3 separate regions of the Homo sapiens genome follow, and regions 1 and 3 are each linked to region 2. Evidence: promoter capture Hi-C in human tissues and cell types (Jung and others, 2019). All regions are on one chromosome and are shown on one strand. The core of a region is centred on a gene start or on the middle of the fragment in contact, and the rest is flanking DNA. Distances in the headings are between cores, read along the strand shown.

The links. Contacts are between HindIII fragments. The study calls those that stand out against the background at their distance.
Region 1: a fragment that was not itself captured here is called in contact with the fragment with the promoter of SRCAP in region 2 in 1 of the 25 tissues and cell types used here (stomach).
Region 3: a contact is called between the fragment with the promoter of ZNF768 here and the fragment with the promoter of SRCAP in region 2, in 1 of the 25 tissues and cell types used here (dorsolateral prefrontal cortex).

The regions. Positions count from the first base shown.
Region 1 is chr16:30,478,905-30,482,806 of GRCh38, forward strand. It overlaps ITGAL (integrin subunit alpha L), which reads left to right. Exons shown (of 31, transcript NM_002209.3): 5 at 187-304; 6 at 427-557; 7 at 2,535-2,680. Among named protein-coding and RNA genes, the nearest start is that of ITGAL, 8.1 kb to the left of the region's middle. The HindIII fragment of the contact is 3,748 bases long and covers 222-3,902 here.
Region 2 is chr16:30,696,914-30,701,064 of GRCh38, forward strand. It overlaps SRCAP (Snf2 related CREBBP activator protein), which reads left to right and starts at 2,258. Exons shown (of 34, transcript NM_006662.3): 1 at 2,258-2,329; 2 at 2,995-3,068; 3 at 3,703-3,965. The coding sequence starts at 3,912. It overlaps LOC730183 (a long non-coding RNA gene), which reads right to left and starts at 2,147. Exons shown (of 2, transcript NR_144637.2): 1 at 1,968-2,147; 2 at 794-1,018. RefSeq lists enhancers at 1,069-1,158, 1,189-1,378, 2,035-2,329 and silencers at 1,499-1,908, 2,049-2,278. The HindIII fragment of the contact is 12,049 bases long and covers 1-4,151 here.
Region 3 is chr16:30,524,393-30,528,905 of GRCh38, forward strand. It overlaps ZNF768 (zinc finger protein 768), which reads right to left and starts at 2,174. Exons shown (of 2, transcript NM_024671.4): 1 at 1,934-2,174; 2 at 1-1,659. The coding sequence starts at 2,021. The coding sequence ends at 125. RefSeq lists enhancers at 1,620-1,679, 3,260-3,559 and silencers at 1,880-1,929, 1,950-2,269, 2,360-3,189. The HindIII fragment of the contact is 23,531 bases long and covers 1-4,513 here.

The sequences.
Region 1 (3,902 bases), core at 846-3,345, 220 kb before region 2:
ATTGGTAGGATGGGAGGGATGGACAGTAGAGACTGTGGAGGCGGACATTCCTTGCCTTGGTAACCAGTTGGATAGAGGAAGTGAGAAAGAGGACAAGGACTCTGAACGTTCCTAGTTTTGGTTGATGTTGCCCAAAAGACACATAGCAAATAGGAGACCCAAATCTTTGGCCTTTGCTTTCTTTAGGCCTGTGACCCTGGGCTGTCTCGAACGTGTGACCAGAACACCTATCTGAGTGGCCTGTGTTACCTCTTCCGCCAGAATCTGCAGGGTCCCATGCTGCAGGGGCGCCCTGGTTTTCAGGGTAAGGAACTGGGGACTCATTGGGTAAAAATACCTCCAAATGGCTGTCCCTAGAGAGAACCAGCATGGGCAGGTCAAACACCAGAGATGCTTCACTGGGTCCCTTGCGTCTGGCTTCTGCAGAATGTATCAAGGGCAACGTAGACCTGGTATTTCTGTTTGATGGTTCGATGAGCTTGCAGCCAGATGAATTTCAGAAAATTCTGGACTTCATGAAGGATGTGATGAAGAAACTCAGCAACACTTCGTACCAGGTAAAAAAGTTAGTTAGGATTCTTGGTTGCATGCAATAGATGCCTACCTGAACTGACTTAAACCATGAAAGGAAATGTTAGTATGTGGAATCCTCAGAGCCTATGGGCATGGCTATAACTGGGCCTCTGGAAGGGACAAGAACCAGGGAGTAGAAAGCTTCTAGGAGTCTCTCTAGTTCTCATTTCCTTTTTTTTTTTTTTTTTTTTTTTTTTTTTGAGATGGAGTTTTGCTCTTGTTGCCCAGGCTGGAGTGCAATGGCACAATCTCGACTCACTGCCTCCCAGGTTCAAGCAAGTCACCTGCCTCAGCCTCCCAAGTAGCTGGTATTACAGGCAACTGCCACTACACCCAGCTGATTTTTGTATTTTTAGTAGAGATGGTGTTTCACCATGTTGCCAGGCTGGTCTTGAACTCCTGACCTTGTGATCTGCCCACCTTGGCCTCCCAAAGTGCTGGGATTACAGGCGTGAGCCACCGTGCACAGCCATTTTTTCTTTTTGAGACAGGGTCTCACTGTGTCCCCAAGGCTGGAATCATGGTGGCACGATCATAGCTCACTGTAGCCTCAAACTCCTGGGCTCAAATGATCCTCCCAACTAGCTGGGACTACCCATGTGCACCACTGTGCGTGGCTAATTTTTAAATTTTCTGTAGAGATGGTTTATCATTGTGTTGCCCAGACTGGTCCCAAACTCCTGGATCTCTCAAGAGATCCTCCTGCCTTGGCCTCCCAAAGTGCTGGGATTACAGGCATGAGCCACTGTGCCCAGCTAGTTCTCATTTCTGTTTCTTTTTGCGTCTTTGCTTCCTTCTTCTCTTTTCTCAGTCTCCGTAGACTGGCTCCCTTAGCGCCTTTAGACCACATAGACCTATGGAAAGCTCCTAAGTTCATGTGTTAAAGTTCCAAGAGGGTTTTTTACCTTCCCCTCAACCAACACCTCCCTTTGCAAATTTCCAGTTCTCAGAGAAGAGGTTCTGGCTGGCGTAGCTTCAGTCAGGTGTTGATCCCCGGCCCAGCCAACTGTATCTAGTTAAGCAGCGTCACTCAGCAGAAATATGGCTGCTGGAACCCATCCCTATCAGTGACATAGGTGGACCCAGAAAACAGGAGCTCAACACACAGTGTTACATGAGGGAGCAAGGTTTATTTCATTTTATTTCTGTGTTTATTTGTATATTGCCTCATTTTCAAAAGAATTATCTGAGGCAAGGATGTGGAGTTGGGTTGCCCAGGTCCTGCATAAGAAGAGATTGAGCCAGGCATAGTGGCTCACACCTGTAATCCCAGCACATTGGGAGGCTTAGCCGGGAGGATCACTTGAAGCCAGGAGTTCGAGACCAGCCTAGGCAACATAGCAAGACCCCATTTCTACAAAAAATAAAAACTAGCCAAGTGTGGTGGCACGTGCCTGAAGTCCCAGCTACTTCGGAGGCTGACGAGGGAGGATGGCTCGAGCCTGGGAGGCTGAGGCTGCAGTGAGCTATGATTGTGACCGTGCACTCCAGCCTGGGAGACAGAACAAGACCCTGTTTTGAAAAAGAAGAAGTAGAGTTTGGGGCTGGGCACGGTGGCTCATGCCTGTAATCCTAGCACTTTGGGAGGCTGAGGCAGGTGGATCACCTGAGGTGAGGAGTTCGAGACCAGCCTGGCCAATATGGTGAAACACCGTCTCTACTAAAAACACACACACACACACACACACACACACACACACACACACCACACACACACAAATATTCGGGTGTGGTGGCACGTGCCTGTAATCGCAGCTACTTGGGAGGCTGAGGCATGAAAATCGCTGGAACCCGGGAGGCAGAGGTTGCAGTGAGCCAAGATTGTGCCAGTGCACTCCAGCCTGGGCAACAAGAGCGAAACTCCATCTAAAAAAAAAAAAAAAAAAAAAAGAAGTAGAGTTTGGAACAGACAAATGGAAAGGGATATATAACTGAATGTCATTTCTTCCTTCCTTTTCTAGTTTGCTGCTGTTCAGTTTTCCACAAGCTACAAAACAGAATTTGATTTCTCAGATTATGTTAAACGGAAGGACCCTGATGCTCTGCTGAAGCATGTAAAGCACATGTTGCTGTTGACCAATACCTTTGGTGCCATCAATTATGTCGCGTGAGTTCCCTTTTGCAGGAGAGCACGTGTCCTGTGATTTGTTCTGGGTGATCTACCCACTTCCAGCTGCAGGGCATGGGAACTCAGTAGGTAGGTACAGCAAGGGGCAGTTTATTGTCTGAATTGAAGTGGAACAATTTTACTGCAGATTCTTTTGGTTGTACGTAACAGAAATCTACTCTGTACTAATTAAATCCAAGAGAAAGTCTAAGCCAGGTGCACAGTCTGTAATCCCAGGGCTTTGGGAAGCTGAGGCAGGAGGATCTTTTGAGCCCAGAAGTTTTTGTTTGTTTGTTTGGTTTTTGGTTTTTGTTTTTGTTTTTTGAGATGGAGTTTCGCTCTTGTTGCCCAGGCTGTAGTGCAATGGCATGATCTCGGCTCACTGCAACCTCCACCTCCCAGGTTCAAGCCATTCTCCTGCCTCCGCCTTTCAAGTAGCTGGGATTACAGACCTGTGCCACCACGCCTGGCTAATTTTTTTTGTATTTTTAGTAGAGATAGGCTTTCACCATGTTGGCCAGGCTGGACTCAAACTCCTGACCTCAGGTGATCCACCTGCCTCACCCTCCCAAAGTGCTGGGATTACAGGTGTGAGTCACCACACCTGGCCTATGAGCCAGGAGTTTGAAGCTGCAGTGAGCTATGATCACACCATTGCACTCCAGCCTGGACAACAGAGCAAGATCTTAACTCTAAGAAATTAAAAATAAATTAAAAAAGAAGAGCCAGGACACCAATGTGGCCGGAGAGAAATAAGTGAGGGGGGAAAATAGTAGGTGATGAGGTCAGAGAGATCATGAGGGTCTGGATGGGTTAGTGACTTGGAGACCATAGTGAGGACTTTGGCTTTCCTCTGAGTAAGATGAGAAGTCATTAGAGGTTTTGAGTAGAGGAGTGATGATCTATGTTTTTTAAAAGATCCCTCTGGCTGCAGGGTTGATATTAGACTGTAGAGGGGGCAAGGGCGGGTGGAAGTGATAGGGCCAGTTAGAAGGCTACTGAAAAATCCAGATGAGAGACAATGGTTGTATAAACCAGGGTGGAAATCCATGAACAGGACCCGCAATAGGCCCATGTCTGTGTGGATGGAGATTGGAGAAGCATTTTGCATCCAAGATAGAACCAGAGGTCTTGACAGCAGGTGTTCATGGGTAAGACGGTTCACACCTTGCTGCTGTTCCAGCAAGAGCTATGGCCAACCCAACTTGCTCAGAGGAAGGCT
Region 2 (4,151 bases), core at 1,008-3,507:
AAGACTATCTCAACAAATGAATACATAAATAAATACTATGTAAAGCACATCAGAAAGCTAACCTTGACCTTAAGATCATGGGTGTGAAACACTGAACTATAGTGAAATATACTCCACATTTAGGTAGTCCTTTAGAGCTTTTTTATTTTTTCATAATTTTAAAATTTTTAATTTACTGTAGAGACGACGTCTCACTATGTTACCCAGGCTGGTCTTGAGCTCCTGGCCTCAAGTGATCCTCCTGCCTTGGCCTCCCAAAGTGCTGGGGTTACAGGTGTGAGCCACCGCACCTGGCCCTTTAGATCTTTCAAAGCAATTTTACATCAGCAATTCTATCCTCACTTTACAGAGGAAACTGAAGCTCAGAAAGGTGAAGTTAATTGCTCAAGGTCACATAGCAAGGAGTTAATGGCACAAGGCTAGGTCCAATTCAGGCTCTGGCCTGGGATCCCCTCTTCTGGGGGTGATGGGAGGAGGGTCTAGAAAAGATGGGCATCATCCACTTTTCTTTCAACCCAAACTTCATCTGTAAAATGGGACCAACAATCCTCTTCGCAGGGAAGAGCTAAACTGAATGGAGGAAGGGGAGCTTCATCAGGGCTTCCTAACCTGGCCTCTTAGCGGGGGCTTTAGGTGGTAAAATTTTATGACAGCGAGTGCATTCTTGTGGCTTAGACTGCTTGGCTAGGAATCTTGACTTCAGGATCTGTCACTGTGTTTTAACGCCTGAGCCTCAATTCGTTTGTAAAATGGAGCAGTTAGGATTAAAAGAAATAATCAAGGCACCAAGTAGTGTCAGTAGAAGGTAGCTGTTATTTATTGTTCTATTCTGGGGTAAAGGTATCAGATTCTCAAAGGGATTCTTAATCTAGAAAGTTTGCGAAGAGATGGCAAAGGTGTTTGAAAGCTATCAGGAAACCATCCTCGCGTAAAACGAAGCAGCGCTACAGAAGTGGGCTGCCATGGGAATCGGGAGGCCCAGGTTCCACTGCTAACTTGCTGCAGCTTACTGGGTGATCTGTAAATAAAAAGGGAGGTGGCGGTGGTCCGAGCTGGCAGCCGCAATGCAGCCCCAGGTAGATCTAGGGGCAAACGGTAAAGGCGCTCCGAGGAAGGGCGAGCGCGCAGCCTCTGGGAGACTACACCTCCCAGGCTGCCTTGCGCACCGTGCTGCACCCTACGCTAGCACGCGAGCCTCCCCGTTCCCCCACCCTCCAGTTACTGTCTCTCGCGAGAAGACGGGCCGCGCCGGCGATAGCGATTCCGAGCGAGTGGTGGTGGTAGTGGTGGTGGTGGCGGCCGAGACGGCGGCGGCCATTTTGGTGAGGCCTCGGGAGCGGCAGCGGCGGTTCGCTGGGAGTAGCGTCTGCCCTTTTTCCCACCCACCGTCCGCATCTGTGTGCTGCGCGAAGAGGCAGTGGAGGCAAGGCGGTGGCAGTAGCCGCAGTCTCCAGGGGAGTTTAAAGGCCGCGAAGGCGGTGGCCAAGAGGGGGCCCTCCCCCCTCCTAGGCGGGAGGGGGGGTGGTGCGCACGCCCCCGAGGACGCAGGTAAGGAGAGGGAGACAAGATGGCGAACGCCCCACAGTTCCCCCTCCCATGACGGCTGACTGCGCGCGCATCTTTCCGCCACCGCCTCCCCCCCACCTTCCCGGGGTGCTGCGCGCGCACCCTCAGCCGGGGCCCCGGGGCCGGTGCGCGAGGCTGTCGGCGCGCGCCCATAGAGACAGACTGAGGGGGTCAGGCCGGCCGGCGCTGGGCCCCGGCGTGTCTCCTCTCCCTTCCCGCCCTTCTGCGCACGCGTGCCTGAGCGAGCGAGCGAGCGAGCGAGCCCTGAGAGGACGGACCCAGGTGCGCTCCTGCCCGCCCACCAACCCAGTCACCCCTCAGGGGCGCGCGGGAAGAGGAAGGGGGGCGTGGGACGAGTAGTCGGGGCGCGCGCCCACCACATCTAGCCGGGGGACCAGGACCTGGTGGCACGAACCCTCCCTTCTCTCAGCCTTTCGCGGTCGGGTGATGGGGGGGCTCCCTGACGGGCTTGGATGACGAGCTTCCCAGCCCCGCGACCCTTGTGTGCGTGGGCTCGGGTTCTGGCGGGAGCCCCTGGGCCGTGCGCGCAGCCGGCTCGCTCCGCCTCCAGCCGCGCACGCGCGGGCCCCTCCCCCGCCCGGCGCGCACGTTGGGTGGGGTGGGAGTCTGGAGGGGGCGGGGCTATCTCAGGGCTAGTGGCAACTTGGGCAGAGGTCAGGGGTCACGCGAGGTCAGTCCGTCGGGAGGGCTAGGGAGATGGTCACGAAACCTGAAGTCAAGAGTTAAGGCTTGTTGGCTTCTGGTGAGCTCGGGTCTTGGGAACGTGTGGCGGAGTAGGGAGTGAATCAAAGCCGGCACTGTGGTTTAGGAATTTCCTTAAACACTGGGGAAGCATTTCCGGGCCTCCTGCGGGTTCACACTGCCTGTTTCCGGCGCGTGGTTCTTGGCAGTGCGGCCTCTCGCTTTTGACTGCTCCTGAGTCTCCTTTTGCTGTGGTTCTTGTATTTGGGGAAGTGTCTCAAGGCGCAGGTATGGGATATACAGCGCCCTGCCCTGAATCCTGGGCGGATTTTCCTGTGACCAGCCTGTTTGTTGACTCTTCCCGGGAGTTCCACTCTCACTTCTGCGTTCAGCCCTCACTGGAAAGGCCCGCAGGCAGGTAGCACCTTTCTGAGGTTCTGGATGTGACAGCTTTTTTTTGCTGTATTTTTTTTTTGTCTTCCATTCTGTGGTTGGAGCCTTTACACTTAAAATTTTTGAACTTTCTTTCTTCACTCCTTTCCTGCTCCTGCCCCCAGGCAGGATCGTATGTCCCTCCGGAATTCACAAAACATGATTTGCATTTCCCTGAAATGTGAGATTTTCCTACTACTGTAGTTTTTCTGTTTCTAGTCTTTTAACTGATTTGGGTATATTTAAACGTCTCAAAAAACTGGAGTAAATAATACGCTTTGATGGATGTTTCAGGTGTGATTCCCTTCAGTACGGCGGCACCGTGGAAGTGCAGACTTTCACAGGGGGTGTGGTCTCAGCTCACACAGGTGAGGGATCTGCTACCATTTTGTGTGCTGATGCTAATGGGAGAAATGTTTGAGATAAAGCAATTATAGGTCCGTATTGGGGATTTTCACTCTAGAGAAGCATGGGAATGTTTGCATGTGATTTTTCTGTAGAGGGTTTGATTATAGTACAACAACAGAACTGAGGCTGTGGGTTGAGGAAAACGTGGTCAACCTGGCTCTACCAGGAAGAGTAGCAGGTTTTCCTTGGTTTTGGCATCAGACTGTGGATTGAAGCCCTCCTATCACTTTTTTACTGTGTAACCTTCCGCAAATCATAAGGTCTTAACTTCGTAACTTACAAAACAGATTATATTAGAATGTAAGCTACATTTAGGTCGGGAATCCTTTCTGCATGGCTATATCCGTTGTGTGTAGGAGGAAGTCAATATTTGTTATGCTGTGAAAAGCACTTGGTTTTTAAGGTAGGTGTGAGGATTATAGAACACATCAAACAGGTACTAAAAGTATCTTATACATAGTAAGTGCTCAAGAAATGTAACCTGTAATTTCTGTGTTTCTCTTTATTCAGTGTTATTTCTGGTTTTTTAAAAATACTTTTTCATCCCCTTTAACTGCATTTCTGTCTTTTTTTTTTTTTTTAACCCTACTTTAGGTGCTCCAGAGGCTGGTGGACCTGAGCGGAGGCTGGGACGCCCTGGTGGGCCCCGGGCCCTGGAAGGCGGGTCCCGGTGGCCGGTGGCCCAGAATGAGGCCAGCTCCCAGCATGCCCTGCAGCCGGACGCCAGCCCCTCGGCCAGCAGTACTGGTGATAACAACCCAGTCATTCTTCAGGCATCCAAGGGGGAGCCTGGGAGTGGGACCATGCAGAGCAGCCCCTCCCCTGCTCACCCTCAGCTCCCAGTCCTACAGACACAGGTTTGAAAGTGGGAAGAGTTCCTTCTCTGCTTCTGCTTTGTGGATTGTTGAGTGTGAGGCAGAAGAAATGTGGCAGGGGAATATTTGTGGAGAGTTTTGGAGAATCTTTGGTGCTCGGGGGCTGGGCTGTAGTATATCAGGTCTGTTGGATACTCACATTCCATTTAACATTAGTGTAATATTATC
Region 3 (4,513 bases), core at 924-3,423, 170 kb before region 2:
TTCTTCCAGCATCCTCAGCTCCTCCATTCTCCTGCGGCTTCTCCACTATCCTCCCTAAAGGTTCCTCTAGCTCCCTGGCCCCTTATCTTCTGCCCACACCTCCCACCCCTGCTGGGGCCCCAGGTCAGCGCCGGCCCGCCGCGTGGGTCCGCTGGTGGCGGATGAGGTCGGAGCTCTGGGAGAAGGCCTTTCCGCAGTCATCGCACTTGTAAGGCCGCTCGCCACTGTGGACCCGGTGATGCTGCAGAAGCGTGGAGGAGCGGCAGAAGCCCTTGCCGCACACGGCGCACCTGTAGGGCCGCTCGCCCGTGTGGGAGCGCTGGTGCTGGATGAGAGTGGAGGAGCGATTGAAGGTCTTGCCGCAGTCGGGGCAGCTGTAGGTGCGGCCTGGCAGGTGGGTGCGGGCGTGGATGGCCAGCACCGAGCTCTGGCCAAAGCGCTTGCCGCACTCAGGGCACTTGAAGGGCTTCTCCCGGGCGTGGCTGCGGGCATGGGGGATAAGGGCCGACCGCTGGGAGAAGCTCTTGCCGCAGATGCCACAGCTGAAGGGCCTCTGACCGGTGTGCACCCTCTGATGGCTGCGCAGGGACGAGTTCTGGCTATAGCACTTGCCGCACTCGGTGCAGCTGTAGGGCCGCTCGTGGCTGTGGGTGCGCTGGTGTCGCAGGAGGTAGGAGCTGTCGCCGAAGGCCTTGCCACAATGTGGGCACTTGTAGGGCTTCTGGCCAGAGTGAGTGCGCTGGTGGCGAAGCAGGTAAGAGCTGTCGGCGAAGGCCTTGCCGCAACGGGGACATTTGTAGGGCCGCTCGCCAGTGTGGGTGCGCTGGTGTTTGATGAGGTCAGAGCTCTGGGAGAAGGCCTTGCTGCAGACCTCACATTTGTAGGGCTTCTCACCGGTGTGGATGCGCTGGTGCTGGATCAGGGTGGAGCCCCGCCCGAAGCTCTTCCCGCAGATGCCACAGATGTTAGGCCGAGGGCCCTGCCCACCCCTGGCCCGGCCACCCCGCCGACCTGGACCTCGAAGGGCTCCTGTGAGACCCAGGGGATTCTGAAGCATCTCAAACTGCGGTGTAGACAGCAGGGCCCCTGTGGGCATCTCAAAAGGTGGCCCTATGGGCAGGTCCCCTGTGGGCTGCTCCCCAAACCCCTGAGTGAAGGAGTCCAGGGGGTGAACTCCTACGGAGATATTCAAAGGACTCTTTTCCTCGGGGTTCAGAAGCATCTCCGCACCTTCCTGGAATTTGGAACTTTGAGCTTCAAATTCTGGGCTTTGGGTTTTGAGCTCAGTGTTCTGGGATTCATATCTAGAGCTCTCAGATTCATAGCCAGGGCTCCGGGGTTCATACCCGGGGCTCCGAGGTTCATAGCCAGGGCTTTGGGGTTCATACCTAGGGCTCTGGGATTCAAACTCAGGGCTCTGAGAATCTGATTCAGGGCTTCTGGGTGCAAACTCAGGGCTTGGGGGCACAAGCCCAGGGCTTCGGGACTCAAACCCCGGGCTTTCAGGCTCAAATCTGGGGCTTTGGGGTTCAAACTCTGGGCTTTGTGGCTCAAACCCAGGGCTCTGGGGTTCAAGCCCAAATGGTATCTCTTCGACTTCATAGTCCCCACTGCCTTCTTGCTGAGAAATTTCCTCTTCCTCATTCTCACTCATGTTGCCTGCAGGATGAGAGAATCCAGATCGTGTGAGACCTGGAAGGTCATTTGGTCCATTAGCAACCACACACCTCCCACCTCACATGCAGGGTCGCTGGCCCCTAGACAAGTGCTGAAATTCCCACGCCCCCCTCAGCTGACCCAAGACACCCCAGTCCCCGCCGGCCCCTCCTTCGAGTCCCAGGTGTCCCAGCCCCGGGCCCTCGCTCCCTCCCTGGAGCCACAGCCCCTTCTCCTGCGCGCAAGTCCACTCCTCGGACGGGCGCTCCCTCCTCACCTCTGAGGTACCCTTCGGGGCTCCTCATTTCGTCAGAACTCTGCACATCCTGGGGCTCGAGGCCCCACGGCAACGCCTCCCGCTCCATCCCCGCGGGCTCCCAGTGCAGCGGCGGCGGCGATGGCGGCCGATCCCGCGACCCGGCCTCGGTTGCCCCGAGCCGCGGGCCCCCGCCTCCCGCCCGCTCAGCGCCGCCCAGGGGACTCGGCGGCCCAGCCCGGGCCCCCGAGGCCGGACGTCTTGACCCCGCGCCTCTCCAGCGCGCCGGGCCCCTCCCCTGCCCGCGGCCCCGCCCCCTCCCAAGGTCTCGGCCTCCCCGTGGCCCTCACTGGCCCCCGCGCGTCGCGGCCTCGGGGATGAGGGGCTTCGCGACTACCCCGGCGGCCCCCGGCCCCCGCTCCCGCCCGAGCCCCCACCTTCTGGACCCCGGCCCCGGGCTGGGCTGCACTGTCCAACGGCCGCCCAGCACCCCCCCACCCTCCCCCGCACAGGAAGTGTCCGTCCGCGGCCAGGTCCCCCCGCCGGCTCGCGCCGCGGCCTCTCTAGGAGCCGCTGGAGGTGGAAACTCGTTGGCATTAACCCTGGGCTGGAGGGGCCCGGCCACGGGGTGGGTGAGGACCGGACGCCCCGGAGCCCGCGGGGCTACCGGGGCAGTGTGTGTGCCTATGTTCTAGGTCTCCGTCCCTCCAGAGGCCCGTCTGTCCATCTCCCGGGCCCCGCGTCGTCGGTGCGTGTGGCCAAGGGCGAGGCGACAAGCGAGACCAAGGTCAGCGAGAAGGAGCGACGCTTCCCGGCGCCAGCGGGGGCGGTGTCTCGCTCCCTCCCCTCCCGGGCCTCCGGGTCAGCTCCGGCAGCGCCTCGGGAACCGGGACGGACTCCCCTTGGCCTCGCCGAGGTCCTTGAGCCTGGGACCCCCTCCAGGAACTCCGCTCCCCGGCACCTGCGCGCGCCCGCTCCCGTTCCTCCGGCCCCCACCCAGCTCGGCTCCCCTGATCCTCCTCCTCCCTCCTCCCTCCTCGAGGGCTAGGATAGTTGCCAAGGAGACAGCCCCGCCCCGGCTCCCAGAGGCACAGCTTCTCCGCCCCAGGAAGCCCGGCGGTTGGCCGATGGGGCTCGTGCTCTAGCCGCCCCGCCTCCTCCAACCCCGCGGACGGCTGGGCGTTAATGGTCGCCAGGGAACGCCAGGCGCCTTCCTGATTGGCCGGGAGTGCTGTGGTCGGGTCCGCCTCCCCTGTCGGCCAGAAGCGCCTTCAGGAGGTAGTGGGAGGGAGGTGCCAGGCATCTCCCCTCCAGCCCGGCCTGTGCCATCAAAACTTTTCCCGCCCCCACTTAGCCTCCATTATGTTTTATGAAAGCCAGAAGATCTGAGGACAGACACCCTTCCTCCTCGTCAGCCTCACACCCCTTGCCTCTCCCCTCCACCTTCCCCAGCGCCTGAGTTTAACTCAATCCCTGGCAGCCTTAGTCCCTGTTGTTAGATTTCCTCACAGGGAGGCAGGATTCCTTCCAGGTGAGGGTGATACAAAGGAGAATTGGACTGAGAGAACCATCTGGCCTTCGAGGCATCTAACAACTCTCCAGTCTTGTCTGACTCGAATGGAGTCTTGCAGAGGAAGGGAACCTGAGAAACACTGCCTCGGGCGCAGCTTTGAATTGAGGAAGTGAGCCTGGACAGACAACTTAATATCATCCAGTTCTTGTCTTTTTTTTCTACGCTTCGTGCTGAAACAAGTTTGGCAGCGTTCTTGACAGTTAACGAGCCCGATGCCCCTGTGTGAGCAGGAGCCATGGATCGTGTTTTCTTGTCGCCTACCCAGACAAATGAAGGGAAGAGAATGTTTGGGAGGAAGGATGGCCTCTCCTTCCTGAAAAGAGGTGAGAACAAGAACTTGAAGAATGCCAAGTGGTAAAAAGTGGAGAGAAACTATCTAAATAAAGGCTTACAGGTGGGGCGCACTGGCTCATGTCTGTAATCCCAGCACTTTTGGGAGGCCAAGGCAGGTGGATCACGAGGTCAGGAGTTCAAGACCAGCCTGGCCAAGATGGTGAAACCCCGTCTCTACTAAAAAAATACAAAAATTAGCCAGGCACGGTGGTGGGCACCTGTAATCCCAGCTACTTGGGAGGCTGAGGCAGGAGAATCACTTGAACCCGGGAGGCGGAGGTTGCAGTAAGCCGAGATCTCGCCACTGCACTCTAGTCTGGGTGACAGAGCAAGACTCCGTCTCAAATAATAATAATAAAGGCTTACAAATAAAATCACAAGAGCTTATGCCACGAATGAAGCGGGGAAAACTTTCTGCCCTCCAGAGAAACAGCTTCCAGCCCCATAGCTCTCTCCCATCCCAATGTATGTTTGTCTTGAAACCTTTGCTAAGAATGGCTTACATGGTCCAGCACTAGAGCCCACAGTCAAACAGCCTACAAGAGGACCAGTTTTGGGAAGAGCTGGACATGGGGTACCCTCTGGTCATCCCCAAAGCACTCACACAGGTAGGAAACAAGTCTCCTTCACAAGACACTTTTCTCTGACATCCAACTTGCTGATCCACCAAAATTCACACAGGAGAGCAGCCACAC